4 separate regions of the Homo sapiens genome follow, and all the other regions are linked to region 2. Evidence: promoter capture Hi-C in 16 types of primary human blood cells and fetal thymus (Javierre and others, 2016). All regions are on one chromosome and are shown on one strand. Each heading gives the region's core, a stretch centred on a gene start or on the middle of the fragment in contact. The rest is flanking DNA. Distances are from core to core; before and after follow the strand shown. Region 1 overlaps CYFIP2 (cytoplasmic FMR1 interacting protein 2). Region 2 holds the start of FAM200C (family with sequence similarity 200 member C). Region 3 overlaps MAT2B (methionine adenosyltransferase 2 non-catalytic beta subunit). Region 4 overlaps HMMR (hyaluronan mediated motility receptor).

Evidence for each region. Contacts are between HindIII fragments. The CHiCAGO score rates a contact against its expected background, and 5 or more counts as called.
Region 1: a contact is called between a fragment that was not itself captured here and the fragment with the promoter of FAM200C in region 2, in 1 of 17 cell types (neutrophils). The highest score is 16.1, in neutrophils.
Region 3: a contact is called between a fragment that was not itself captured here and the fragment with the promoter of FAM200C in region 2, in 1 of 17 cell types (naive CD8 T cells). The highest score is 7.0, in naive CD8 T cells.
Region 4: a contact is called between a fragment that was not itself captured here and the fragment with the promoter of FAM200C in region 2, in 2 of 17 cell types (M0 macrophages and total B cells). The highest score is 11.2, in M0 macrophages.

Annotation. Positions count from the first base shown.
Region 1 is chr5:157,337,715-157,342,914 of GRCh38, forward strand. CYFIP2 (cytoplasmic FMR1 interacting protein 2) reads left to right here. Exons shown (of 31, transcript NM_001037333.3): 22 at 1,343-1,542; 23 at 3,356-3,443. FNDC9 (fibronectin type III domain containing 9) reads right to left here. Exons shown (of 2, transcript NM_001001343.4): 2 at 3,884-5,200. The coding sequence ends at 5,148. Among named protein-coding and RNA genes, the nearest start is that of FNDC9, 5.4 kb to the right of the region's middle. The HindIII fragment of the contact is 3,966 bases long and covers 1,027-4,992 here.
Region 2 is chr5:160,397,222-160,402,405 of GRCh38, forward strand. FAM200C (family with sequence similarity 200 member C) reads right to left here and starts at 2,833. Exons shown (of 2, transcript NM_022090.5): 1 at 2,418-2,833. SLU7 (spliceosome associated SLU7) reads right to left here. Exons shown (of 16, transcript NM_006425.5): 16 at 4,420-5,184. RefSeq lists enhancers at 975-1,474, 1,794-2,479, 2,373-2,522. The HindIII fragment of the contact is 7,568 bases long and covers 1-5,184 here.
Region 3 is chr5:163,518,896-163,523,823 of GRCh38, forward strand. It overlaps MAT2B (methionine adenosyltransferase 2 non-catalytic beta subunit), which reads left to right. Exons shown (of 7, transcript NM_013283.5): 7 at 1-459. Among named protein-coding and RNA genes, the nearest start is that of MAT2B, 16 kb to the left of the region's middle. The HindIII fragment of the contact is 9,934 bases long and covers 1-4,928 here.
Region 4 is chr5:163,469,915-163,474,770 of GRCh38, forward strand. It overlaps HMMR (hyaluronan mediated motility receptor), which reads left to right. Exons shown (of 18, transcript NM_001142556.2): 6 at 1,271-1,357; 7 at 1,449-1,549; 8 at 3,265-3,339; 9 at 3,465-3,643; 10 at 4,143-4,291. Among named protein-coding and RNA genes, the nearest start is that of HMMR, 12 kb to the left of the region's middle. The HindIII fragment of the contact is 1,608 bases long and covers 1,310-2,917 here.

The DNA.
Region 1 (5,200 bases), core at 1,760-4,259, 3.1 Mb before region 2:
TCCAGCCATTACAGCCGACCCTATGGTCATCCCACCCGGCCATGCTCTGATGAATTGGCCTTGCCGATGTTCTTTTAGCCTTTATGCTGTAAAGCCATCTTTGCCTTTCAAAGGACTTTCACAGCTCTTGCATCCTTGTTCCAGGGAACTGTGTCACAGGGACCAAGAACACATGATTTGGAATAAGGAGACTTGGATTCACATCCTAAGGCCTCTTATGGTGACCTTGGGCAAGTTACTTAACCTTCAGGGCCTCAATTTCCCCTCTCTGAATGAGGGACCATTGTACCGATCCTAAAAGATGGCTTAACCAAAACAGCACAGGAGTGGCCTAAGGTGCTTTCTGTCTCTACATAAGACTGTACTTTGATTCCTTTTGATAGCAGTGGCGGGGAAGTTGCAGGACAATGAGAGTCCAAAGCGTGTTGAAAGAGTTACACTCTTCTTTCATTTCCCAACAAATGCCATGTCCTGCTGTGTGCAGATACTCTGTCCCACTTTGCCTGAAGATGGGTTTCCTTCGTTCAGGGCCCACAGTGCACATAGATCCCGGTCATCATGAGCTGACTGCAGACTGCAGACTGCTTGCCCATGGCTTGTAGCCACGCCTTTGCCAACCCCATGTGATACCTCAAGGGGCCTACACTCCAAAGGATGAGGCATTCTGCTCCCACCTCTTTTTAAAACTTCTATAGCAGTTAGAGCATATAGTGGTTAAGAATGTGCACTTGGGAGCCCAGTTTCCTGGATTTGAAGTCAAGTTACTTAACTTCTCAAAGCCTCGGTTTCCATATGTATAAAATAAGAATGGCAGCAATACTGACCTCATAGGGTTTGATAAGCATTAAACAAGTTGACACATATAAAACTGGCACATACTAATTTGGTTGAACCAGGCAAAATTGCCAATATTTGGCCCTAAAAAACAAGTAACGTCATAGGGTTCAACCTAATAGTAAACCCTTAATTAGTGGTAGCTCTTAGTATTGCTTTTTTCTCACCAACATAGAAACTGGAAAGCAAGTAAGCTTGTTCTCTACCCAAAAGGGATTTGCACATGGTCTATGGTCTCCTTCCAGGGGGTAGGCGTGCAACCTCCCCTTCCCCTACCTTGCCCTTAACCTTCTGGGCCTCCATTTCTGTCAGCGTAGTCTGACAATCCTTCCACTTCTCAGAAGGGAACCTTGTCACCTGCTACTGTAAGGGTCCTAGTTCCCATGTAGATGGCCAGGAGGTTGTCTGAGCAGCTGTCACTTGCGTGAACAGAAGCAGTAAGATAAAACACACACATGTAATGCTTACAAGCAAGTCCTCAGCAGTTGTGGGCTCTCTCTCTGTACAGGAGCTGGAGTGGCTGCTGGAGATTAACCGGCTCACGCATCGGCTGCTCTGTAAGCATATGACGCTGGACAGCTTCGATGCCATGTTCCGAGAGGCCAATCACAATGTGTCCGCCCCCTATGGCCGTATCACCCTGCATGTCTTCTGGGAACTGAACTTTGACTTTCTCCCCAACTACTGCTACAATGGGTCCACTAACCGGTAAGGGAGTCCCTGTGCAGAGGGGGCCGGGTGGGGGTTGGGGGAGTGGCCAGCTGCCTCCTCCAAACTAGGCCCAGTACATGTGTGAGTGGTTCCTGCAACAGGTGTCTCTCAGAGCCCCTCCTGGGCACAGGCTTTGTGCTGTCTCACTTGCCTAAGGTCATAGAGCTGGTTGACAGTTGAATGTGGTTAACAATTAGGTCTTCTTTCATTGAAGAGCTCTTTCTACTGCTACTCTGAAGTTGCCCATTGGGGTGTTTTCCTGCTCCAGTAAAACATGGGGCATGCCATGGTGAGCAGATACCTTCCTGCCTCTTGAGTCTTCAGACTAGAGGAGGATGTGGGTGATCAATCACATGACAAATGTACCATTACAAACAGTGAATAAGGAGATGAAGGAAAGCCCACAGGGCCATGACAGTGGTAACAGTACCACCTATTCCAGTCCAAAAAGTCATGCAAACCTCAACGGAGGCTTCCTCTTTGAGGAAGTAATGCTGGAGTTAAGATGCAAAGGATGACTAGGAATAAATAAGGCAAAAAGGCAGGAGAAGAATATTCCAGACAAGTTTCTAAGGGTTTCTCCAAGAAGTTGATGAGGGTAAAACTAGTCGGGTGGGAAATGGTGCTGTGAAAGATAACACAGGAACAGATTGTGCAGTACTCTACAGGCCAGGGCAGGATCGTGCATTTTTATTAACCCTGAAAGAGTTTGAGGAAAGGAGATGACATGATCAGATTGTATGTTTGTAAGGATATCCACGTATCTGAAAGCATGCCTGCAAAACAGCATACATTTGCAGAGCACACATACGCATGACAAAGTGGAACTTGCCTCCTGCAAGGTGCACACGGCCCGGGGCCAGGCACTGAGGTAGAGACAAGACCTAATTTCTTTATCCCCACAAAGTTTCATAACCCAGTGGAAGAGTAAGGCATATATATTCACATACAAAATAAGTATGTAAGGATGCAAAAAAAATGTATTCATCTGCAGATCTTCTAGGTATCTCCAAGCCTTGGCTCAAGGCCAGTATTGAATGAGTGTGTGTTGAATGAATGAAAGGGTATGGGAGATATCCACAAATGCACCTGGATCCACACACTAAGTGAGATAGATTTCCAGTTCTATAAAGATTTAGGAGCTTTAACACTCTTGAGCAGGGAGCAGCAAACTGTGGCTCACAGGCCACATCTAGTTGCTGACTGTTTTTGTAAAGCCCATGAGCTGAGAATAGTATTCACACTTTTGGGTGGTTGAGGGGAAAAAATCCAAAGAAGAATAATATTTGGTGACAAGTGAAAATGATTTGTATTTGATAAAGTTTTATTGGAACTCGATCATGCTCATTTGTTTATTATTGTCTGTGGGTGCTTCCATGCTGCAACAGCAGAGTTGAGTACTTGCAACAGAGACCGTCTGGCTTCCAAAGCTAAAAATATTTGCTGCCTGGCTCTTTTGAGAAAGAGTTTGCTGAACTCTGCTCTTGAGAAACCAAACTGGAGGTAGAGGAGTGGAGCCCTAGAGAAAGTCCACTCTTAGTTTCTTGCCTAGTGTCATTCGGAGCAGCCACAAGCCCCTGGTTGAGCCCAGGAATCTAGACTGAATTTTTCCCATCTATAGAAAGGAGACGGCAGTTGAATGGGAAGATGTCAGAAGAGTTTAGTACCTTTATAGTCAACCACCTAACAAACAGTGCACTTGTACCAGTGCAAACCTTCACCTGGCCAGGAAGCACTCCTGTTATCTGTGTCCCATGGAGAATAATATTAGGACCATATTAACTCTTTCCCATCCCTATGCTTCTACTAGTTTTGTGCGGACTGCCATTCCTTTCACCCAAGAACCACAACGAGACAAACCTGCCAACGTCCAGCCTTATTACCTCTATGGATCCAAGGTAAGTAGTCCTGCCCTACCCTGCCTAGAAGAGGGTTGGTGAGAAAAAGCAAATAGAAAAGTGTCTCTTAATTAGAAGAGTAAGAAGGTGCAGAGATAAAGGCAGCAATGAGGTCAGGCACAGTGGCTCATACCTTTAATCCCAGCACTTCAGGAGACCGAGACCAGTGGATACTTCAGGCCAGGAATTTGAGAACAGCCTGGACAACATAGCGAGACCCTGTCTCTACCAAAAAAATAAAAAATAAAAAATTAGCTAGACATGGCGGCATGCACCAGTAGCTACTTGGAAGGCTAAGGCAGGGGGATCCTTTGAGCCCAGGAGTGTTATGCTGCAGTGAGCATGATTGTACCACTTCGCTCCAGCCTGGCTGACAGGGCGAGACTCTTATCTCTAAAGAGAAAGGAAAAAGGCAGCAATAAGATCCAGGCAGAAACAGCTGTGAGTATATGAATCTTTATTTGTTCACAAGTAGCAGGAATGGGGGCAAAAGTCTGGGTGCCGAGCAGGGAATGCATGAGGTAGGCAAGGGAATAGGGATGTGGGGCTTCTCGTCTTGGCTTCTCAGCTCCTGCTGTTTCTTAGTTGATTCACTGCAGTGTCGTCCTGTGATTCTGGGATTTTGTGCTCTATAGATATAAGAGGGTACTGGGAAGGTCTTGGATGATGCTTGGAGAGTACAGGCGTCTTCTCCAGAACAGCCTGCCTAGTCTGGTCAAGACAATTTTCTCAAATCAAGGGAAGCTGACTGACAGCATTTGAGGTGGTTCACAGACATGGCATTTAACTAACACTGACTCGCAAAGTAAAAACAGCACTTCCCTTTTCGATTCTCTTTCAAACCTTATGCTATATCAAGGAGAAAGACAAATATTGGTGCTAATATGTCTTTATTACCTCTCCAACACTGGATCTCCCTTTTTATCAAAGACAAGCAAGCAGGCATTAAGCTCAGAATCACTGGCAGGCAATAGAAGCTAAGTCAGATTATTTAATATTATCTTGTTTTCATGATGTTTATTCTTATGTCTCTTCCCTTCTGTTTGCAGCAGGAGGGTGCTGGTTTTTCACTTATGGAGTAATATAAGGCTGTCTTTGAAAATAAGTTTACGCTTAAAAAATGAGTCAATTTAAAGGAAAGTATTATTAATAATAGTGAAGATAATCCATGGTTTTAAAAAATAGAGAGCGGTGGTATGTGATTGCCTAAAAGTTGGAAAACACTCCAGAGCAAGGGTTCTCACAAATTATTTCCAAATAATCCCAAATTATTTCCAAATAATCCCCTCAAGGGCAGAGGAAACTGGACATCTACCTTTGCCCAAAAGTGTACCTCTGAGAGCCTACTTGTAACTCAAGTGTTTCCTTCAAGTGCTGTGTTTTATTTGTCATGCAAATTTTTGCTTTCTACTTTATAACATATCCATGTTTGTTTTAATGTTAAAACAATGCTTTCAATTCTTAACTGTGTCCTCCGAGTGGACGCTGCTGCTGAGATGCCTCGTTTGTGCCTTGGCATACCCTGGGGGATACATTTTCCAGCTTGAGAAGCTTTGTCATGGGGCATTCATCCAACCCAGGTGACCTACAATAGCAGTGACGTTTGATGGGAGAGAAATGGGTAGTCTATAGACACATTTGTACAAACGACCTACTGTGTGGAAAGCTTTAGGCTACATGATGCGGGCGCTCTCCTCCCCACTCTCATTCCCCACAATGAGGCAGTATAGCGGGTGGGTCACCACCCCCCCTCTGTA
Region 2 (5,184 bases), core at 1,583-4,082:
AATAAAAACGTATCCTTCAAACCAATCCTTAGCTAACAAATATTCTAGGTTTCTAAGTGAATGGTCCCAATGCTTTAATAGATATTTAAATTTTCTACATTTTCTGAGTTGATGACAGCCTCCTATGAAAGTTGAAACCTAAAATGAAAGCCATATCTTTTCTCTTTCTCTCCCTTTAGCAACGAGTAAAGGCATAATCCACAGGTAGGCTCAAATATACCTTAGAAAACATTCTATCTCCAAGATAAGTAAGTGATCCCCAAAGTTTCCAAAGTTCTGTGCCAGAGAATGTGGCTGAAATAAAGTAACAGGTACACATTTAAATCTGAATGCCCACTTTGGACATTAAAAGAAAAATCACAAGCCAAGAATATCCACTTAAAGCATTAGCTTTCAAGTGGATCTACCAAGATGAACTAGTTGTAAAGTGTACTCCAATAAAATAAGCTGAGCTGTTACAAGGTTGTTATGAGCCTGTTAAATTGGAGGATGTCTGCCAATCAAAAAAGACAACCTGAAGTTTAAAGAGCTGATCTTAAGACTTCTTTTGTCAAGTAATGAGACTACATGACCACTTTTGCTTAGAACCACTTCTAATTAATGACGATAAAATTATGACATTACCATAAATGCTTATTTTTCTGTATTCTATTAATGTATATTTATCATGTAATATTTGGGGAGGAAGAGGGAATAAAGGAAAATGTTTTTAGTCACATTAGAAATCATTACAAGAGGGGCCCTGCACGGTGGCTCACGCCTGCTACCCCAGCACTTTGGGAAGCCAAGGCGGGCAGATCACTTGAGGTCAGGAGTTCCAGACCAGCCAGGCCAACATAGTGAAACTCTGTCTCTACTAAAAATACAAAAATTAGCTGGGTGTGGTGGCGCATGCCTGTAGTCCCATCTACTCGGGAGGCTGAGGCAGGAGAATCGCTTGAACCCAGGGGGCAGAGGTTGCTGTGAGCTGAGATCATTGCAGTGAGCTGAGATCACGCCACTGCACTCCAGCCTGGGTGACACAGCCAGACTCTGTCTCAAAAAAAGGCTGGGTACGGTGGCTCATGTCCATAATCCCAGCACTTTGGGAGGCCGAGGAAGGCGGATCACCTGAGGTCAGGAGTTTGAGACTGGCCCTGCCAACTTGGCGAAACCTCGTCTCTACTAAAAATACAAAAATTAGCTGTGCATGGTGATCCCAGCTACTGGAGAGGCTGATGCAGGAGAATCGCTTGATCTGGGAGGCAGAGGTTGCAGTGAGCCGAGATGATGCCACTGCGCTCTCCAGACTGGGTGACGGAGTGAGACTCTGTCTCAAAAACAAAACAAACTGGAAATCATTACAAGATCTGTTAAGAGTCCATTCCTATCCACCTTGACTATGTCTCTCAAGTATATTTTAATTTAAAATTTATCTGTTTTGAACAGTTTTAGGAAAATCAATTTAAAGTATTCTTCTCCATAACCCTCAAAAAGGGAGAACAGGTGGCAAGAATTTTCAAGGGCCTCAAAGATGAACTTACTGCCCAAGAGGCTTGTGTTTTAGAACCTCACAATTTGCACTTGCGCTTTTGTGGTATTTAGGAATTACAATATCCTAAAAAACGTAAACATTAAAAAGCATCATGATAAGGAGATATTGTTAAACAGGCATGATAATGGTATTGTGGTTGTGTTTTTAAAAAGTCCTCATTTGTTAGATACAGACAATTATTTACAAGTGAAATAAGATGTCTGGGATTCCTTTGAAATACGTACTTCAGCACACTCACAAACATGCACAAAGCGGGGTGGAGATAAAAGAAATGACTGGCCTTAAGTTGGTAACTCTTGAAGCTGGATGATGGGTATACATCATTACACCGTTCTATTTTAATGTATTTTGGAAACTTTCCATAATAAAAAGATAAAAAGCATTATCTTAAGATAGATATCACTCATTTTAAGCATGATTCTTTTGAGAGATTATCTTCAGATGCTTAATGAAAGATCTGATATAACAAAGTAAAATGTTTTTGCAAGTTTATGAAGGGTAGATATGAAAAAGTATTACAAATGAGAAAAATCAGTTAAAAGTGAACACTCACAAAACAAATATTTAGGGAATGCTAATATATATATATTCCAGCAGTGAAAACACCAAAGTGCAGCTGTAAACCTAAAACTCCAAACCAAATACAATTCAACTTCTTTCTAGCCACTGCGTATGCAAGATCATGATAGGCGCAGGTGTCTGGGGAGGCAGAGCATTTAACCATTACATTTTACAGTTAAAATCAATAGCCAGGAGAATGGGGGCAGGAACTTGGTGGCTGGGCAGACGCTCCAGGGGCAAACGCCTGGGATCGTGGCTTTGTCACTTACAGGATGGGACCTTTCCAAGCCTCAGTTCCTCCAGAGGGGATAACAGTACCTACCTTACAGGGTTGTTAGGAGATTTAATTATAAGAATGCATGCAAATAACAAGCAGCTCTTAACTGATAGGACCTGATGGTGTTACTGTTAAGGACGGAGATTTTTACAGCCTCCCGGGTGAGATAAGAACGCCAGCTGCTAGGAAAAAAAAAAAAAAGACTCAGCGCGGTCTCCGCCCGCCCGTCTCCAAGCCTGAGGCGCAGGCCTATGGGATGCACGGGCTTCTTTTAGGCGCCCGTTTCAGGCTCCAGTCCCACTCTCCGCTCAGCCTAGGGCCCAGCCTCTGGCCGTCGGAACCAGTAGAGACGGCGGTTCCTCGGGTCCAACCCCCGGGCAGGAATCTGCGGTGCGCCTGGAGAGAGAAGCATCCGCAACAACCTCCGCCTCAGCCAGGCCCGGGTTCCATCCGGGTTCTCCAGGGTGCTTCCCGCCCGCAAACTGGGAGAGGCGTCTCCCACACGCAGGCGCAGTAGCAAAGGGCTGTGGGATGGGCTGGCTGGCTTGAGTATTGAGCATGCGCGCTAGCCCTTCCCAATTTTTTTTTTAAGATTGTGTACGTGGAACAAGAAATCGTTTGTTTATTGTGTCTGCCAGAGAGGATGAACTGTACAATTTCAGGAATGGAAGGGGCTGTAAACTCCACATAGTTCTTTTTAACATGCAGAGCACTTAAACTTTTATATTGTGTCGGGCTTTGAGCTTGGAGATAAAACGCCTGATAATTGCCATGTTCCATGTGGAATAAATGAGAGAAAAAGAGAAGGAAGCTCATTGTAATTTCAGATTAGACATTTCAGCAGTGGAGGATGAGCTTCCATAGCTTGTGTACTGTTGCCTATGCAAGCTGATCCCACTTTCCGTAAGTGGGAGCATAGGGATGAATTTCCATGTCATCATCATATATCTGAAATATTTTTATTTTAAATTCTTTCAACAACATGATTTCAAAGAAATAAACCCATATTAGAGAGGTTTTAGAGAAAAATCCCAAGTAGAAACTAGGAAACGTTGTTGAAAGAAACCGGAATATAGCCCTTTCCTGTTTGGGGGTCTTTCCAGAATTCTTATAAACTTAATGAGTTTACTCATTTTTGTACAATCTTGTTAGAAGCATTCCATAAGACTAGTGTGTGTGAGGAGTGGTGGGGCGTCAACGAATGTGGGCCAGATACATCATTTTCAGGTGTTAAGGGTGAGCCTGGTAAATATTGACGGGCTGCTGAAGTTTTTTGTGGATGGAAGAAACTGCTAAAGACCAGCCTTGTTGGTCAAGAAATTAGGGCCTTCAATACTAGAGAAAGGGGTAGGCTTCAGAATCCCACAGCTAGCTTCATGTCCTGACTCCAACGGTTAGGATTTGTGCAGGTTACTTGGAGTTAATTCCATGTGCTTTTTGTAAAACTTACATATCATCCATTACCCCATGAAATTCTTTTGAGGAAGGAGATAACATTATGACAATTACAGTACATAATTCTCGCACTCAAAAGGCAGCTATTATTGAGATAATAAAATCAAAGCTCAATCTGAGTAATGTCCTAGGCATTATGTTTTTTTCTTTTTTTTTTTTTTTTTTTTTTGAGACAGGGTCTCATTCTGTTGCCCAGGCTGGAGAGCAGTGGCGCAATCTCAGCTCACTGTAACTTCTTGAACCGGGTTCAAGCAATTCTCATGCCTCAGCCTCCTGAGTAGCTGGGATTATAGGCGTGTGCCACCATGCCCAGCTAATTTTCGTATTTTTCATAGAGACAGGGCTCTGCTATGTTGGCCAGGCTGGCTAGGCATTACTTTTCCAAAATAAAACAGAAGACATGATTCTGGATATTACAGAATTCTTCCTAAATCTAAGTAAACCAGGCCTCATAGAAGAGGGAAAGAGGTCCAGAAAGGTTAGGTGACAAGATGCTGAAATTTTCTTAAACTCACAGAAGCTAATCCAGGTTCCCCTCCCTGTCCCATAAACAACTTTTCTGCCAAATATTAGAAATAATGCTACAAACCACTCACAGTTAAGTATTGTCATTTATGTATCTTTAACAAAAGATAAAATACAAAACGGACACAACATCAGCCTTTATGTTGAACCACCCTGTTTAGGTAGGAAAATGAACATTGTTTTTCATTCTTAAAGTAAATAGGAATTAAATCTATTTGCATTGCTGTTTAATTTCATACCAATCTAAAGCTCGACACTATGTATATCCAAAGTACTTGACAATTTGACTCAGTTACTCACACCACTGTTTCTGAGATGCTGACTTAATGCAGTATCCTACAGGTGGTTTTTGGTAGTTTAGAAAAGCCAGTGAGTGGGCTGTTAAAAGTTGATATACTGATGTCAGAGGTTTTGTTAGGCTGTTTTCACTGATTCTACTGTCAGTATTATCTTCACAGTGTTCTGAGAAGAGGCTTCAGGATCATGGCAATCTATTACTAATATCCCTAGAAGCTATCCTTATAATTCTTTCAATAAACCAACTTCAGGTTTTGTTTTTTTGCAAATTTTACAAACAAAGTAACAGCTGCTGGCTATAAATATTAGGATATTCTACAATTTAAAAAATCTAATATTCATGATTGTTACATAGGGGCAATCACAATGAAAACAAACGGTAATGTAAACCATATCCTCTATGATAAAGGAAAGGATTTCTACACCTAGACTTATGTCCAGAATGGTAAAAGACCTACTACTGATCAGTCAATATTGACCCAATGATGAGAAAATAGTTGTTTTCCATTCAAAGACTAACACATTTAGTCTACTC
Region 3 (4,928 bases), core at 2,309-4,808, 3.1 Mb after region 2:
CTTCTACAGCTTGATGCCTCCTGCTTTTATAGCAGTTTATGGGGAGCACTTGAAAGAGCGTGTGTACATGTATTTTTTTTCTAGGCAAACATTGAATGCAAACGTGTATTTTTTTAATATAAATATATAACTGTCCTTTTCATCCCATGTTGCCGCTAAGTGATATTTCATATGTGTGGTTATACTCATAATAATGGGCCTTGTAAGTCTTTTCACCATTCATGAATAATAATAAATATGTACTGCTGGCATGTAATGCTTAGTTTTCTTGTATTTACTTCTTTTTTTAAATGTAAGGACCAAACTTCTAAACTAATTGTTCTTTTGTTGCTTTAATTTTTAAAAATTACATTCTTCTGATGTAACATGTGATACATACAAAAGAATATAGTTTAATATGTATTGAAATAAAACACAATAAAATTAACACTTGATCCAGAATGTTAACTTACCACCCCATCCTAGAATGTTACAGTTACTGTATCTATTTGTGGGAACGGATTTGTTTTTAACTAAAAATTAATAGCTATATAATCTTGTTACATTATACAGTTGACCCTTGAACGGTGTGGGTTTGGGGTATCAACCTTGCACAGTCTAAAATCCACTATAACTCTGGACTCCCCAAATACTTAATTAGTAAAAACCTGCTGTTGACCAGAAGCCTTACTGATAAACATAGTCATTTAACATATTTCTATCTTCTGTGTATTACATACTGTATTCTTAAAGTAGCCTAGAGAAAAGAAAATATTATTAAGAAAATCTCAAGGAAGGGAAAATATATTTACTATTCATTAAGTGGAAGTAGATTATCATAAAGTTTTTTTTTTTTTTTTTTAGACAAGGTCTCGCTCTGTCGCATAGGCTGGGGTACAGTGGTGCATTCTCAGCTCACTGCAACCTCCGCCTCCTGGGTTCAAGCAATTCTCCTCCCTCAGCCACTCGAGTAGCTGGGATTACAGGCACCCGCCACCACGCCCAGCTGAGTTTTGTATTTTTAGTAGAAATGAGGTTTTGTCATGTTGGCTAGGCTGGTCTCAAACTCCTGCCCTCAAGCAGTCCACCCTCCTCGGCCTCCCAAAGTGCTGGCACTACAGGCGTGAGCCACTGCACCTGGCCTGGATCATAATCAAGTTCTTTATTCTTATCTTCATGTTGAGTAGGCTGAGGAAATTAACTGGGGAAATTTTACTGATACCTGAGTCCTACCCTGGGCTTACTGAAATAAATTTTGGGAATTGAGGCCTATTAATTTATTTTTAAATGTTTCCCAGGTGGTTCTAAGGTTGCCAGTCTGGCATTGCATTTGGCAACCACTAAATTAAAGCATTTTGTTTTATATTTTAAGTTACTACATTTCATATAGTGCATAATTAAGTTTCGGAGAGTAAAAAGTGTTGTTATTCTCTAGCCACCCGTTTTTCAACTGTGGAAGAAATGGATGTAGATCAGTTCCTTGCATATGTTTCTAGAGGCACTCTGCATATAGAAGAATATAATCAAAAAACTCACGTGTCCATACTCTCACCATCCGCCCTCACAAAGAATAACATACAATTCTCTGACCTTTTTTTCATTTGGAATTTGTTGTATAATATAAATAATGTCCTTTTTTTTTTTTTTTTTTTTTTTTGAGACGGAGTCTTGCGCTGTTGTCAGGCTGGAGTGCAGCGGTGTGATCTCGGCTCGCTGCAACCTCCGACTCCCTGGTTCAAGCGATTCTCCTGCCTCAGCCTCCCAAGTAGCTAGGATTATAGGCAGCGCCACTACACCCAGCTAATTTTTGTATGTTTAGTAGAGATGGGGTTTCACCATGTTGGCCAGGATGGTCTCGATCTCCTGACCTCGTGAGCTGCGCACCTCAGTCTCCCAAAGTGCTGGGATTACAGGTATGAGCCACCGTGCCTGGCCAAAAATGTCCTTTTTAAAAATCTTCATTTAAAAATTTCATTATTTGCCATGATAGCATAAATAATGCCTGTATTTCCCTTTCCAGATTCCCCAGTTGTCAGCATTTAGCACATTTACCCTATCATTTTCATGCACACTACATATGTATACTATTTTTATTTCCTGAACTATTGAAGAGTAGGTTGAAGATACGATGCTTCATCACCCACTTAGTATATAAACCTCAGTGTATATTTTCTAAAAATAAGGATACATGCCTATATACCCTGTAATATAATCACAATCAAGAAATTACCATTCAATTTCATAAGATCCCATTCAGATTTCATCAGTTGTTCCAGTTTCCTTTATAGGTCTATGCAGTCCAAGATTACTTGTGTGTGTCGCCATGTTGCTTTAGCTTCAATATGGAACAGTTCCTCAGTGTTTGTCTTTCATGAGCTTGATATTTTTGACATTTCTCTGTATAAGAAACCATAAGTTGACATCGATAGCTCCAGTTACAGTCTTGTTCCACAGGGTTTATTTTGGCTCTTCCCATGTTTGTGGCACCTTTCTCTGACAGCAACCGAATTCTCAGTTCTTTTTTTTGAGACAGGGTGTCACTCTCACCCAGGCTGGAGTGCAGTGGCACAATCTCAGCTCACTGCAGCCTCCACCTCCTGGGTTCAAGTGATTCTCCCACCTCAGCCTCCTGAGTAGCTGGGACTACAGGCATGTACCACCATACCCAGCTAATTTTTGTATTTTTAGTTTCACTATGTTGCCTAGGCTGCTCTCAAAGTCTTGAGCTCAAGCGATCCACTCACCTTGGTCTCCCAAAGTGCTGGGACTACAGACATGAGCCACAGTGCTCAGCTCGAATTTTTTTTTTTTTTTTTTTTTGAGATGGAGTCTCTCTCTGTCATCCAGGCTGGAGGTGCAGTGGCATGATCTCAGCTCACTGCAAGCTCTGCCTCCCAGGTTCATGCCATTCTCCTGCCTCAGCCTCCCAAGTGGCTGGGACCACAGGCACCCGCCACCACACCCAGCTAATTTTTTTTTTTTGTATTTTTAGTAGAGATGACGTTTCACCGTGTTAGCCAGGATGATCTCGATCTCCTGACCTCGTGATCAGCCCGCCTTGGCCTCCCAAAGTGCTGGGGTTACAGGCGTGAGCCACTGCGCCCAGCCTCAGCCCTCATTATTCTATTTATTCATTTGCTTCATTCATCCATAAGAATCATTCTGATGACACTAGCCAAGCCTTCCTCTGTTCTCCACTTTACATAGGCCTCCAAGCCAGCTGAGCATTCCCAGACCCATGTGACCTGGCCCTGATGCCAGTGACTGCAGGGACCACTGTACCTGGTCAAGGATCCTCCCGACCCATGGAGCACTGCACCAAGAATCACATGTGCCACTATGTACCAGCAGAGCACCAAAGAGAAGGAACTAGTTCTTTTTTTGGCTGCATTTATTCCATTGTATCAATGAGGGAAATCACAATTTGTTGGTGTATAGATGGTCCCTGACTTACAATGGTTCAGCAGATTTTTTGACTGCAATGGTGTGAAAGTAATCACATTCAATAGAAACCATACTTCAAGTACTCATACAACCATTCCGTTTTTCACTTTCAGTATAGTATTTAATAAATTACAGAAGATATTTAACACTTTGCTATAAGATAGGCTTTGTGTTAGATGTTGCCCAACTGTAGGCTAATGTAAGTGTTCTGAGCATATTTAAGGTAGGCTAGGCTAAGCTGTGATATTCAGTAGGTTTATGTGTATTAAATGCATTTTTGACTCAGGATATTTTAAATTTATGAAGGATTCATCAGGATGTAACCCCATTGTAAGTTAGGTATCTGTACTGGAATATAAGCTAATTATACCCTTTTGGCAGCCAAATCATCTCATCAACATTAAATATAGCAGTAGGCTTTTTTGTAATTTTTTTTGTGCAGTAGGTTTTAATTCAAGGGTAGGCTAGTCAAGATATTTTTTTTACTTGAAGGAAGTATTATGTATAGTGCAAAGAAACAACTCTAGATTCAAACGTGATTTTTCCACTTGCTAGTAGCAAGTTGCTTTTCCTTTCGGAGCTTGAAGTAATTTTTAGGGTTAAATGAAAAGAATACCACCTATTTCACAGGTCTGTCGTGGAAATACTTGGAACAGAGATACTAGCACATGTAGCTGTGGACTTAACAAATGCCTAAGGGTTGGGGTATGGGGGAGAAATGGTGGTCTTGTAATATTACCTTCACTTTCAGCTGTAAGATATTAGGAGTTTTCTCTCATAAATAAGATTACCAGTGGTTTTTCTTTGTGATTTTTAAGTATTTTCTAGACTTAATTTTAGTATTTTGTAAATGCATTTAAAAATATTTCAAAGAAAATTATTTTTGTAACTTGTTTTACCTAAGGACTTCTGAAAGTTCTTTTCTGTATTTTGCTACAGAAATAGCCAGAATACTTGAATTTATATACATATAAATGTATCTCTGGAAATTGAATACATTCACTTCATGTATTTACTTGCAAGTGATTTACATTGAAAGATGGCCATGAAATTTCCCAGCTGTGTCTACAGTTACTTTGCTTTCCATGGTCCCCATTTCAATTCTAATTTTTGACATATATACATGCTACATATTATTGAACAATTTCAATTTCCCCCCAGTTTGTTATAGATTTAAAAAATATTCCCTTTGAAATGAAAAATTGATATATGGCCTTTAAAATGTTTTAATGTGAGATGCTAAAAATTATTCAAGATAAATCAAACACTTTGGCATATAGGAGGGCTGGAAATAATTTTTTATTTTCCTTATACAGCGTCACCCCCAGGCTTTATGTGCTTAGAACACATAAGGTCCTTGGAAAGTTGAAAGAGGGATGATGGTTCTGGCCTTCAGAAGTGTTCGTCTGTAGTTACAATTCACCCCGAAACTAGAGGTCAAGAAAGGAAGAGGAAAAAATAGATGCCATATGATATGACACCAAATAAGATGACACCAATGTCTA
Region 4 (4,856 bases), core at 864-3,363, 3.1 Mb after region 2:
CCCAGCATTTTGGGAGGCCAAGGCAGGCGGATCACCTGAGGTCGGGAGTTCGAGACCAGCCTGACCAACATGGAGAAACCCTGTCTCTACTAAAAATACAAAAATTAGCTAGGCCTATTGGCGGGCGCCTGTAATCTCAGCTACTCGGGAGGCTGAGGCAGAAGAATCACTTGAACCCAGGAGGTGGAGGTTGCAGTGAGCTGACATGGCGCCATTGCACTTCAGCCTAGGCAAGAGAGTGCGACTCCATCTCAAAAAACAAAACAAAACAAAACAACATACACCAGGCGATTCAGATTCATTTTGTTAAGCAAACATGTTTCAAGAAATCCTTTCTCAGGGACTTGCTTTAGAGTCTTGCAATGGACTTTCCAGCATATAGAGGTAAGTGACCACCCAAACAACCTTTCAAAAATGAACCAACAGGCCAGCCACAGTGGCTCACACCTGTAATTCCAGCGCTTTGGGAAGCTGAGACGGATGGATCACTTGAGGTCAGGATTTTGAGACTAGCCTAGCCTAACATGGCGAAACCCCATCTTTACTAAAAATACAAAAATTAGTCAGGTATGGTGGCGTACACCCGTAATTCCAGCTACTCAGGAGGCTGAGGCATGAGAATAGCTTGAACTCGGGAGGCTGAGGCATGAGAATAGCTTGAACTCGGGAGGTGGAAGTTGCAGTGAGCAACACGGCACTCCAGCCTGGGTGACAGAGTGAGACTCTGTCTTACAAAAATAAAATAAAAATAAACCAGCAAGTCACATTAAGGAAAAGAGGGATAAGAACAGTAGACTGGTACAGTGGCTCATGCCTGTATTTCCAGCATTTTGGAAGGCTGAGGGCTGGAGAATTGCTTGAGGCCAGGAGTTTGAGACCAGCCTGGGCAACATATCAAGACCCCATCTCTATAAACAAATTGAAAAATTAGCTAGGCATGGTGGTGGTGCACACCGGTAATCCCAGCTACTCAGGAAGATGAGGCAGGAGGATTGATTGAGCCCAGGAGTTTGAGATTATAGCGAGCTATGATCATGCCACTCCACTCTAGCCTGGACAGCGGAGCGAGACTTGATCTCTTAAAAAGAAAAGAAAAAAAAATTAAATCAATCAGTAATTATGGTGTAGGTCAAAGACTGTTCTCTCTACCAAAGTATATTAAAGTCAAAAACATAACCCCAGTGATAGGTAGAAAAATCAATATTTGTGTATTTTAAATATGTCTTAGCAGAAAATATTTCTGAATTTTTTACGTGTTTGTTGTATTTAGTTTTCTGAAAATGGTAACCAGAAGAATTTGAGAATTCTAAGCTTGGAGTTGATGAAACTTAGAAACAAAAGAGAAACAAAGATGAGGGTGAGTGCTGCCCTTGGCAGGTTTGCTGTGTCTGGATCTGGGGATCAGTACAACTTTCTCATTTCCTAAAACAGGTATCTTTGTTGTGTAGGGTATGATGGCTAAGCAAGAAGGCATGGAGATGAAGCTGCAGGTCACCCAAAGGAGTCTCGAAGAGTCTCAAGGGAAAATAGCCCAACTGGAGGGAAAACTGTAAGTGAGTGAATGTGAAGAGAAATTGTTAAGTGGAAGCAATTCTTGATTTGAGTCTCTTCACAAATTATTGTTTACTGAGACTTCAACCTTCTGTTAGTACTTATCTCATTGCCTCCCTCCAGTTGCCCTATTTCTCTTTTTAAACTAGAATGAGCCCTAATCATTCTCAAACATGTTGTGCTACAAAGTTGTATGAGTGCATTACTTTTGTACATCTTCTGTATTATTAATGATGAGGAAAGATTTCATGATCTTATGAAAGTGGTCATTAGATTGAAATTGAGAAACACTGGTATAGGAAATTGTGATTTATGCACAATCCTAGCCTTTGATTTTGAGCTTTAATATACATATAATAAAATGTGTGGATAGTAAGTATTCAGTTTGGTGACTTTAGCAATTGTATACACCTACGTAACCACTACCAAACAAGATAGAGAACATTTTCATCCCTTCAGAAAGTTCCTTCATACCCCTTCTTGTCCCCCTGCTACTGCCTATGTCATGTCCCCATCCCCATAACTACTTTCTCACTTACATCATCATAAATTAGCTTTGCCTTTTTTTATTTATTATTATTATTATTTATTTTTTTTTTTAGAGATGGGGCATTGCTTTGTTACTCAGGCTGGTCTCATACTCCTGGACTCAAGTGATACCACCCTGGCCTTCAGAGTGCTGGAGTTATAGACATGGGCCACTATACCTGGCCAGTTTTGCCTTTTTTTAGGACATGCAAAAGAGAAAGAGCATGTGTGTGTGTTGCTTCTTTTGTTTGATGTAATTTTTCAAGATTCATCCAAACCGTTCTGTATACTGTAATTTTTCCTATTTTATTTCTGAGTAGTGGTTCACCTTATGAATATACCTCCATCTCTTTACTCTTCTCCTTTTGATCATTATTTGGGCTGTTGCCAGTGTCTGCCATTAAAAAGACTGCTGTGAACATGTTTTATGTTTTTTTATGGACACGTTTTTATTTCTCAGAGAAATTTCTAGGAGTAGAATTCTTGGGTAATAGGGTAGTGTATATATAATGTTTTTTAAAACTCAGAAGTGTTTTTGCCATTTTTATACACCCCCTGGCAATGTATGATAGTTTCAGTTGTTCCAGATTCTCACCAACATTTAATGTTGTCAGTCTGTTTGATTTTAGCCTTTCTACTAGGTAGGAAGTGGTATCTCCTTTGTGATTTTAATTTGTTACCATGAATGTTGACCTTATTTTTATGTGCTTATTGACCATTTTATGTGCATATCACCTTTTGCAAGGTGTCTATTGAAGTCTTTTGTCCATTTCTTGCATTGGACAGTTTGGTGGAGGTAAACAGATAAGTAATTGAAGACCAGGTAGTCTGGGACAAAAGCTTTATGGGCACACAAAATGCTATTTAGTATGTTGGATGGGTGGGGAAACCAGGAAGACCACAAAAAGAATATTATTTCTAACACTTGGGATACTGTAATGATGGTTCTTGTCATCATAGGTTTTTTTGTCAGTATATATTCAGAAAACTTTCTCACTTAAATAAAAATTTTAGTCTTCTATTTTGATGTAAATTGTGAATTTGAGAAATTACATAAAATAATAGTTAAGAGTTAGGGCTCTGTAGTCAGCCTGCCTGATACAGGAGTATCTGGTACATAAGCATTATGTAAGATTATTAAATAACGAAACTAGAATGTATTAACATATGCAATTTTTGTTTTAGTGTTTCAATAGAGAAAGAAAAGATTGATGAAAAATCTGAAACAGAAAAACTCTTGGAATACATCGAAGAAATTAGGTAATATGAGCAGTAGCTTTAAATTGAACCTTATTTTTTTAATACTCAGTCATTTTCATCATTTTTCTGTTATTTTCCCTGTGCCTAAATAGATGTGCTTTTTAAGATAATTTGTTTTAATGCAGTTGTGCTTCAGATCAAGTGGAAAAATACAAGCTAGATATTGCCCAGTTAGAAGAAAATTTGAAAGAGAAGAATGATGAAATTTTAAGCCTTAAGCAGTCTCTTGAGGAGAATATTGTTATATTATCTAAACAAGTAGAAGATCTAAATGTGAAATGTCAGCTGCTTGAAAAAGAAAAAGGTATTACAGTGTTTTATAGTTACTTTGTTTAGATAAGTGTTACATACAACATTTAGGAAAAATACTACTATGCTAAAACAACCTTTTAAATATAATTAGCTATACTAACATTTTAAATATAATTAGCTATATAGCTATACAACAGCAAAAACCTGTACTGCATTTTAGAATATTTTACTCTTATAATGTTTGTTTTCTGTTTATTTCAATACAGCATATTACCTGTCTTGATTGAAATATATACAGTCATATAATTCTTGACTTTTCCACTAGGTGGCTGTGTAACAATCAGTAGATAACACAGAACAAGATTTGTGGGTTTTATTATTTAGCACATAGTATATATTACATGGAGTAATGATACAAAGTTCACAGTTTTGTTTTCTTCTTTGGAAATACCATGCTAAAAGCAGTGTAATGGAATATTATGGGAGTCCAGGTTTCTCAGTCTTAATGTTCTTATCTAATTCCAGTATTCTTGATGTTTTGCGTTTTCTAGAAGACCATGTCAACAGGAATAGAGAACACAACGAAAATCTAAATGCAGAGATGCAAAACTTAAAACAGAAGTTTATTCTTGAACAACAGGAACGTGAAAAGCTTCAACAAAAAGAATTACAAATTGATTCACTTCTGCAACAAGAGAAAGTAATTTACCACCATATTTTTTTAAACTGTTCATTTTGTGTCATACATTTCCCTATGTCTCTGAACACCTTTAAATTGTGTATATCCTTTGATCTACCAATTCTATCTTTAGAGTCTTATCCTGAGGACATAATCATGGATATGCTGAGGATTTAGCTACGTATTTTCACTACATGTTCACCCTAGGGTTATGAATAATGTGGGAAAATGACAACAGATACAGCAAAATAGGGAATTTTTAAAAAATTTTCTGGCTCATTCTTGTGTTATTTAGGCTATATAAACATTTACACTTACCTTGTAAAAGACTGTCTAATTACAGAAGAAACAAAGCAATTTTTAAAATCCAGATTATTTATAGAACATTTTACATATCAGTGAGAAGAAAGAAAGTCCACTGAAAAATTATGGGCATAGGATGGAAACAGAGAAGGAGAAGTTCTGGCCTGTAAATATAGAAAGATACTCCACCTTAGTAGTAACCAAGGAAGTAGAAATAATATTTTTTTCACTTACAAAATTGGCACAAATTAAAACATTTGATAACACAAAATACTGGTGAGAG